2 separate regions of the Homo sapiens genome follow, and region 1 is linked to region 2. The links are contacts of gene promoters, found by promoter capture Hi-C in human tissues and cell types (Jung and others, 2019). All regions are on one chromosome and are shown on one strand. The core of a region is centred on a gene start or on the middle of the fragment in contact, and the rest is flanking DNA. Distances in the headings are between cores, read along the strand shown.

Evidence for each region. The method cuts DNA at HindIII sites, captures the fragments that hold promoters and counts their contacts. A contact is called where the count stands out against the background at its distance.
Region 1: a contact is called between a fragment that was not itself captured here and the fragment with the promoter of ZNF460 in region 2, in 1 of the 25 tissues and cell types used here (aorta).

Annotation. Positions count from the first base shown.
Region 1 is chr19:58,335,752-58,340,136 of GRCh38, forward strand. ZSCAN22 (zinc finger and SCAN domain containing 22) reads left to right here. Exons shown (of 3, transcript NM_181846.3): 3 at 2,503-4,385. The coding sequence ends at 3,575. Among named protein-coding and RNA genes, the nearest start is that of MIR6806, 3.3 kb to the left of the region's middle. RefSeq lists an enhancer at 2,760-3,261. The HindIII fragment of the contact is 3,367 bases long and covers 652-4,018 here.
Region 2 is chr19:57,278,836-57,282,807 of GRCh38, forward strand. ZNF460 (zinc finger protein 460) reads left to right here and starts at 1,650. Exons shown (of 3, transcript NM_006635.4): 1 at 1,650-2,001. The coding sequence starts at 1,972. It overlaps ZNF460-AS1 (ZNF460 antisense RNA 1), which reads right to left and starts at 1,499. Exons shown (of 3, transcript NR_136529.1): 1 at 1,444-1,499. RefSeq lists enhancers at 846-1,785, 900-1,491, 909-2,108, 1,492-2,083, 3,012-3,131 and a silencer at 2,506-2,555. The HindIII fragment of the contact is 9,196 bases long and covers 1-3,972 here.

The DNA.
Region 1 (4,385 bases), core at 1,085-3,584, 1.1 Mb after region 2:
GTGGCTGTTGGGGGTGACGGAAATACCAGATGTCCCTGTGTACCTTCTCTATGCCCACCCTGGGCTGGCCTCCAGGATTTGGGTGGGTCAGACCTGCCCCAGGCTCAGCTGGGCACTGTTACTCACAGAGACCCACACAAACATCCCAACCCAGGGAGGTCCAGTGGGATGCAGGGAAGACCCAGCCTTGGGACAATCCAGAGCAGGGAGTGGTGGCTCGTCTCAGATGGGCTTGGCCTGGCCTATTGGCAACAGATAGGAGGTGGGCATACCACACACTGGGAGGAAACGTGCAGTGTGCAGGAGGAATGTGGAGTCTGGATACAGCTGCATCATCAAGGCTCAGTAGATCCAACCGCTGCTGCTCTTCCTGGCCATGTGACTCCCTTGTGCCTCAGTTTACTCATGGGTAAAATGGGGATTGTAATAAAAACGCCCACCTTAGTGGTGTTGCGAGATACAAGGCAATACCCGTGCAGCACCTGAAATGGTGCCTGGCACAGATTAAATAAATGGTAACTGCAACTGTTAGGATAATTTGTTCAGCTCTGGGAGAAACAGGCCTCTCTGGAACAGAGGTTGGTCTATGCCCAAGCAGATGTCACAGAGACAGGGAGAGGAAGGAGGGAGTGGCCCCATCCTCCCACAGGGTTGGCCAAAGCTCAGAGAAAGGGTAAAATGCAGAGGGAATGGTGGGGTCAAAGGCCTGGCAGTGTGATTTGCACTGGTGTATTCTGGTAAAAGCAGGTGGTGTGATGTTTCTGGATAGAGGAAGGAAGGGGGAGACAGGGCCAAGCAGATGGCTGGGGGAGCAGGGGAGACTGCCTGTGGACCTGGAGGAGAACATTCTGGAGCTGAAATCCCAACTGGGCCACTAGCTAACTGTGATCCTGTACCAGTTACTCAACACCTTCCCTCAGCTGGATTTCAGTTTCCCCATCTGCAACAGAATCACAGCAGTACCTCCTTCTGAGAGCAGGTCGAAGCTGAAATGAGGCGATGGAAGTCACCCACTGTGCTTGGGGCCCAGCACGACAAGAGCCTGATAGTGGTTAGTGGCCCTGGAAGGCCAGCGGCACAGCATCCATGGCTTACAGATGGGGAGACTGAGTCCCAGATGAGGGCAGGACTGATTAAGGTGGTAGACCTGGGGTTTGAGTCCAGTTTCTGCACTGCTGAGCCCCACTGTGGACTTGAGCAGTGGGTATTCCACCTGTCTCTGCCTCCTCCCTGGAATCCATCCAGTAGATGTGCCAGATTATGTGTCCTTTGCACCCATGCAGGGCAGGTCAGTGCGAGCATTCCTCTACCTCATGCACACTCTGATCTCCAAGAGCACCTCCGCCACACTCTGCCTTCATAGTACTTTACAATGTAGGGGCTTGAGAGGCCAGATGGGTACCTCATGTACTCACCCCCAGCAGCCATATTCTACCTGGGGTTCTACTTGCAGAAATTTTCACCATCGTGGGCTTCTGGATGGATTCCCTCATTCAGCCAGAATTCACTGAGCACCTGTGGACACATCCAGGCCTAGAGGCAAGGTGTTGAGTGTGAGGGACAGAACCGCAACCTCACAGAGATCAGAGCCTGCAGGGGACACATCCAGGCCTAGACGCAAGGCGTTGAGTGTGAGGGACAGAACTCCAACCCCACAGAGATCAGAGCCTGCAGGGGACACATCCAGGCCTAGACGCAAGGTGTCGAGTGTGAGGGACAGAACTCCAACCCCACAGAGATCAGAGCCTGCAGGGGACACATCCAGGCCTAGACGCAAGGTGTCGAGTGTGAGGGACAGAACTCCAACCCCACAGAGATCAGAGCCTGCAGGGGACACATCCAGGCCTAGACGCAAGGTGTCGAGTGTGAGGGACAGAACTCCAACCCCACAGAGATCAGAGCCTGCAGGGGACACATCCAGGCCTAGACGCAAGGTGTCGAGTGTGAGGGACAGAACTCCAACCCCACAGAGATCAGAGCCTGCAGGGGACACATCCAGGCCTAGACGCAAGGTGTCGAGTGTGAGGGACAGAACTCCAACCCCACAGAGATCAGAGCCTGCAGGGGACACATCCAGGCCTAGACGCAAGGTGTTGAGTGTGAGGGACAGAACTGCAACCCCACAGAGATCAGAGCCTGCAGGGGTGCATGTGCTCAGGGTCCTGACAAGGACAGACCCTCCCTCTCTCTCTGTCTCCAGATCAGTTCCACATCAGGGTTTCTCCTCTTGACTCTTGAGCCAAAATTGGGAGCCTTGAAAGATGGCGAGTTTGGTGGGAGGAGGAGAAATCAGAACCCATGGTGTAGTTTTGGATGGTGTGGGAGGACAGCCCTGCACCCTTTGTCATCCAAGACACCAAATGAGAAACTTCCCCTTGGAACTGGGGCCAGATGTTAGGAACGGGCCACATCTCCCCTTACAAAGTGTGACCGGGGCCCTCGGCAGAGTAGGGGAGGCTTGGTGTGGTAGGAGGAGTGACAGTGTGGTTCGGACTGTTTCAGGATGGGATCCAGGAGCCGAGCCCACAGAGGCAAGCTGCAAGCAGAGTGACCTGGGAGAGTCAGAGCCATCAAATGTCACTGAGACCCTCATGGGAGGTGTTTCCCTTGGACCCGCCTTTGTCAAGGCATGTGAACCTGAGGGCAGCTCAGAGAGGTCTGGACTATCAGGGGAGATCTGGACAAAGTCTGTCACCCAACAGATCCACTTCAAGAAAACTTCAGGGCCTTACAAGGATGTCCCCACAGACCAGCGTGGCCGTGAATCTGGTGCCTCGAGGAACAGTTCTAGTGCGTGGCCAAACCTCACCTCCCAAGAGAAGCCTCCTTCAGAAGACAAATTTGATCTGGTGGATGCTTATGGGACAGAGCCTCCATACACCTACTCAGGGAAGAGGTCCTCCAAGTGTCGCGAGTGTAGGAAGATGTTCCAGAGTGCTTCGGCGCTCGAGGCACACCAGAAGACCCATTCTCGGAAGACCCCATATGCCTGCAGCGAGTGTGGGAAAGCCTTCAGCCGGAGCACTCACCTCGCCCAGCACCAGGTTGTCCACACAGGGGCGAAGCCCCATGAGTGTAAGGAATGTGGGAAGGCCTTCAGCCGAGTCACCCACCTGACTCAGCACCAAAGGATTCATACTGGAGAGAAACCCTACAAATGTGGGGAATGTGGTAAAACCTTCAGCCGCAGCACTCACCTCACCCAGCACCAGCGGGTGCACACGGGGGAGCGGCCCTACGAGTGTGACGCGTGTGGGAAAGCCTTCAGCCAGAGCACGCACCTGACTCAACACCAGCGCATCCACACCGGGGAGAAGCCCTACAAGTGTGACGCGTGTGGCCGAGCCTTCAGCGACTGCTCAGCCCTGATCCGACATCTGAGAATCCACTCTGGAGAGAAGCCATATCAGTGTAAGGTTTGTCCGAAGGCCTTTGCACAGAGCTCCTCCCTCATTGAGCACCAGAGGATCCACACGGGAGAGAAGCCTTATAAGTGCAGCGACTGTGGGAAGGCCTTCAGTCGTAGCTCAGCCCTGATGGTTCACTTGCGGATCCACATCACGGTGCTGCAATGACCGGAAGTCGCCCCTGGGGGCGTAGCACAGCGTCTTCTCGGAGGCTCGAGGTCTAAGAGAAACGCTGAGTTCCTGAAGAGCCACAGACAGGGTGGGTGATTGATGAGTTGTCAAAATGATAGGTGCCTGAGGGCAGACTCGGGCTGTCTAGGAACCACTCTGCATTTGAGGAACCCTGATGAGCACAAGGTGATTCAGGCCAGCTGGAGAAGCTTCCAGAAGGGCCCTGCACTGCTACCCTCTATTTCCCACTCAGGGCTGTCCCAGAGAGAAGGCAGCCGAACTGAGGATTTAGACTGGTTCTGAGGGCCAGGGCAAATGAAGGCGCATGTCTCTCAGAACTCAGCGTCCCAAGACGCTCTGGGCGGGCCAACTGTAGCTTGTTCTCATGTGGTTCTTCTTGCCTGCTTTTCTGCTGCTTAGCCCAGAACGGACACCTGCCATGCCCACCTCTGTGCCTTGGCACCTACTATTTCCACTCCAGACTATTTTGTGCCTAACTGCAAGGCTGACTTTTGAGACTGCCTCTTCCACGATGCCTTTTCTACACTCTGCCTCTCTCATGGTTTCCTGTCGTAATCAGTGGTGCTGCTTGACACCTGCCCAGCATGTTCCTGTCTCTCCTTTTCCTTCCACATCCCACCAGTCACCAGCGCTATTGTTTTAACCTAAAGCTTATCTGTAATTCACCTCCTTTTCCACCACTGCTACCTTATGTGAGCCCTCATTGCCTCTTGCCTGGATTATAGCCGGGGTCTCCTTCCTGACCACTTCCTGCCTTTATTCTCTGCCCCTGTATCACTCTCCAGG
Region 2 (3,972 bases), core at 400-2,899:
CTGAAAAAACCATTTAAATTTAATTATAAGAGTCTGGCCAGAGGGGGTGGCTCACGTCTGTAATCCTAGCACTTTGGGAGGCCGAGGTGGGTGGATCACCTGAGGTCGGGAGTTTGAGACCAGCCTGAACAACATGGAAGAACCCTGTCTCTACTAAAAATATAAAATTAGCCAGGCGTGGTGGCGCACACCTGTAATCCCAGCTACTCAGGAGGCTGAGGCAGGAGAATCGCTTGAACCCGGGAGGCGGAGGTTGCAGTGAGTGGAGACTGTGCCACTGCTCTCCAGCCTGGGCAACAAGAGTGAAACTCCATCTCAAAAAAAAAAAAAAAAAAAAAAAATTTAAGAGTCACAAATATGTGAAAAAGAGAATGATGTCTTTATCAATTTTCAAAAATTACTATTGCCAGTGATGAATAACAGTGTTCCTTGCACACTAATTTAGCCAAAAATATTTCTCCAAAAGTACCGCATCGTGTAGGAAATTGACTCCATCTCCATTCCTTGACTATTTTCAATCTCAAAATTAAATCTCTTGGAGAGTACTTTCTGCACACCTTTCTATTTCCTTAACCATATATATCGTCAAACCATTGAAAGCTGGACTTTATTCTCTCACTTTCATAGTCATGAAAAGAAAAAAAAAAAGTTACTGATGGGGACTCCTAAGACTTCGCATAATATAATCTTTGCATAGTCTAGGATTGTTAAAATTCCTAACAAGACTTTATAAACTCTCCTGTCTGCAACCAGTTAATGCTGGGTTGGGCCAGGGTTCCCCTCTTTCCCGTCACTTATCCATCTACGCTCATTCTTTTCATAGCCTCACCCAATATCATGACTTGAAGTAACAGTTTACAGTAATAACTCCCAAATTTATATATCCACGCTCGAACCCTCTGCCAATGTTGAATCATAGGTTGAGTATATGGCACTACGCTTTGTGGTCTTACTGACGTTTCAAACTGATCATGCTTGAAATGGGAGTACTGGGCTTCCCGGCAAGCCTGCTCCACTAGCAGCCTCCCCACCTCAGGGTACGGGAAGTCCACACGTGGCGAACGCGAAGCCTATTACATCACCCGGAAGTCCCTGCATCCTACGAAGGCTGGGCCCGGCCAAAGGAGGCCCAATAGAGGGCGGTCTGTCCTTTCCCAGCAGGCTGGGCACACTGTCAGGCGTCCTCCTTTGGGTGGCTATTTTAACTGCTCATTTATCCTTTTCTTCTATGAAAAGATCCAGAAAAGAGGCAAAGCAAGCGAGAAGTCGCGGGCCCAGCCCACAGCAGGGTAAGCACCTTTGTTCGGGGTCTGAATCGGGGCGAATATCCCCGCCTCCTGACCTCGATTTTCCTGAGCTAGAAGGGACCTTTCGACCCTCCGACTTGTGCCTATACTAAGGCGGTGGCCCTAAGACGACGCGGGGGTTCTGGTGCGCACTTACGTGCAGTCGGATGCGCTGGGTGAGTTCCCACACCCGGTAGATGTAAGGGAAAAACTGCATTACCCAGAAGGCACTGCCCCTTGCGTCGGCCGCGGACTCTGGGCCATTGACGACCCAGGACAGGAGAGTTTTCTGCGGGCCAGGGCGGCGGAGGCGGGACTTCCGCTTCTTCGTGTGACGTCATCTCCGTGGGCCGGTTTGGCCCTGAAACAGTGTGGGGCCTAGAGCGCTGGGTGGGCGCGTTCTGCGGCCTGAGCAGGGACGGGTAGTGAAGCGGTTACGCCCCTTCTTCGCGTCTTGGCGGGAGCCTGACGCCCCGCTTCTCCCCTAACGAGGTGTCCCACCGGCGCCCGCCGAGGCCTAGGCCTCCGCAGCCGCCCTCCGTCTCCTCAGCCCCGACGCTGCGCCTTGGGCCTTGTGCGCATTTTTTTCGGGGGAAAACTGAGGCTCGGAGTGCGAAAGTCAGCCGAGGTCGCCCCGCCCAGGACAGAGAAGGGCTGTGGTCGGCTGATCCGCGGCATTCCCGGGATGGCGGCGGCGTGGATGGCTCCGGCGCAGGTGAGTGGACGAGGTTTCGGCCTTGCTGCTGCTGTGCTATTTCTAGAGGCCTCGTGGGCAGGCTGGAAGCCAAGACAGCCACAGGATTTTTCTTTGTCGCCATCGTTTATTTAAGAGAAATGGCCGTGGCTTGTCATTTCCTTTATCCGCAGTCCTGCAACAGTGTTGGCCTCTGATAGGTGTTCAGTCCGTGGTTGAAGGAGTGATGCTTCCTTCTAGGGATCTCATCACACTTCCCCTAAATCCAACCTTCTCTGTTGCCTGCCAGCCCGTACCCCATCCACCTGGCCAACCACCCCTGACCTTGTCTGTTTGCATTTTTCCCTGGTCCTTTGCTCTTCAGAGCCACCAACCTGACCGTGCAGTCCTCTTCCATTTTCCAGGCTTTCTCCTTGCACTTCCTTTTACTTCGAACACTGCCCCTGTAACTTTGCAGGGCCTCCCTTTCACATCCTTTTGGCATCTGTCCAGGTGTCACCTATTTGGAGGTGCCTTTTTTGGCAATTCCGGCTAAAGTGGCACCTTACACCCTTGCCCAGAGTCTGGTATTTTTGTGTAGATAATCTGATGGTATTAAAGAAGCTTGTGGATTTGAGTTTGTCAAGGATGTAATGGGAACAAAGAAAAATAATTGCAAAGAATGATATTAACTGTCATTGAGTCCTTGCTGTGGGCTGATCGGTGAGTATTATTTAACCCTCAGTTCGTTTAACCCTGAAATTTTTTTTTTTTTTTTTTTTTTTTTTTGAGACGGAGTCTTGTTCTGTCGCCCAGGCTGGAGTGCAGTGGCGTGACCTCGGCTCACTGCAACCTCCGCCTTTTGGGTTCAAGCGATTCTCCTGCCTCAGCCTCCTGAGTAGCTGGGACTACAGGTGTGCGCCACCACGCCTGGCTAATTTTTGTATTTTTAGTAGAGACGGGGTTTTACCGTGTTGGCCACGCTGGTCTTGAACTCCTGACCTCAGGTGATCCACCCATCTGGGTCTCCCAAAGTGCTGGGATTACTCTTTAGAATTAGGTTCTGTTGTCATCATTGTTTTACACAAGAGCAATTTGAGGGTCACATACGTCCAATTACCTGCCTTACATCACTGTAGCTCTTAAGTTTCTTAAGTCAGAAACTAACAACTGGTGTGTCTAACATCATAGCCTGTGTTTTTACCCTCTTCTTTACCCGCAGTGGTTAGGGAGGCCTGGGGGTGAGACCTAAAGTAACCTTTGCAAGATGAGGCCTCCTTCTAGCCAGTGATCTTGGGCATGAGGAGTCATGGCCTTTCATACTGGTGGAACTGTGTAGACTTAAAAAATGGTATATTGGTTGTTTAAGGAGTTCTCAGGGGACCTGTGTGGCTTCCACGGTGGTTTTATATGTGGTTCCCCTTACTCCCTTACCTGCTGACATATTCTGAGAGGGCACGTTTGTATGGTTATGTTGCTGAATGTACCCTCCTACTCAGCCAGGATAGATGTAATCTCCAGATGGGCCCATATTGTCTTGGCTACAACCTGCTGTGCCCTCTATGACTCTTGTTGCTTGCTCATGGAATCTTCTGGCCTCAGGGATGCCTGCTAGTAGGACTTAGGTAGAAAAGGAAGCGATGGCTCATTGTGAATTCTCCCTGGAAGCAGGTCCAGGCCCTAACACCTGATCAGGTGTCACCACGTCAGGTGATTCTTTGGTGAGGTGGATGATGATGACTACACTTCTCTGCCCTTGTCCATGGGAGTGGCTGAAATGTATATGTGGATTTGAAATGCTTCATTCTCATTAACTGCATTAACTTTGCTAATAGAGAAATGTCAGGTTACATAATCAGACCAGAGGGCCCTGGGCTTAAATCCTGCCTCTGTTGATAAGACCTGTGACTTTGGGCTGGGCTTGGTGGCTCACACCTGTAAACCCTGCACTTTGGGAGGCTGAGGTAGGTGGACTGCTTGAGCCCAGGAGTTCAAGACCAGCCTGGGCAACAT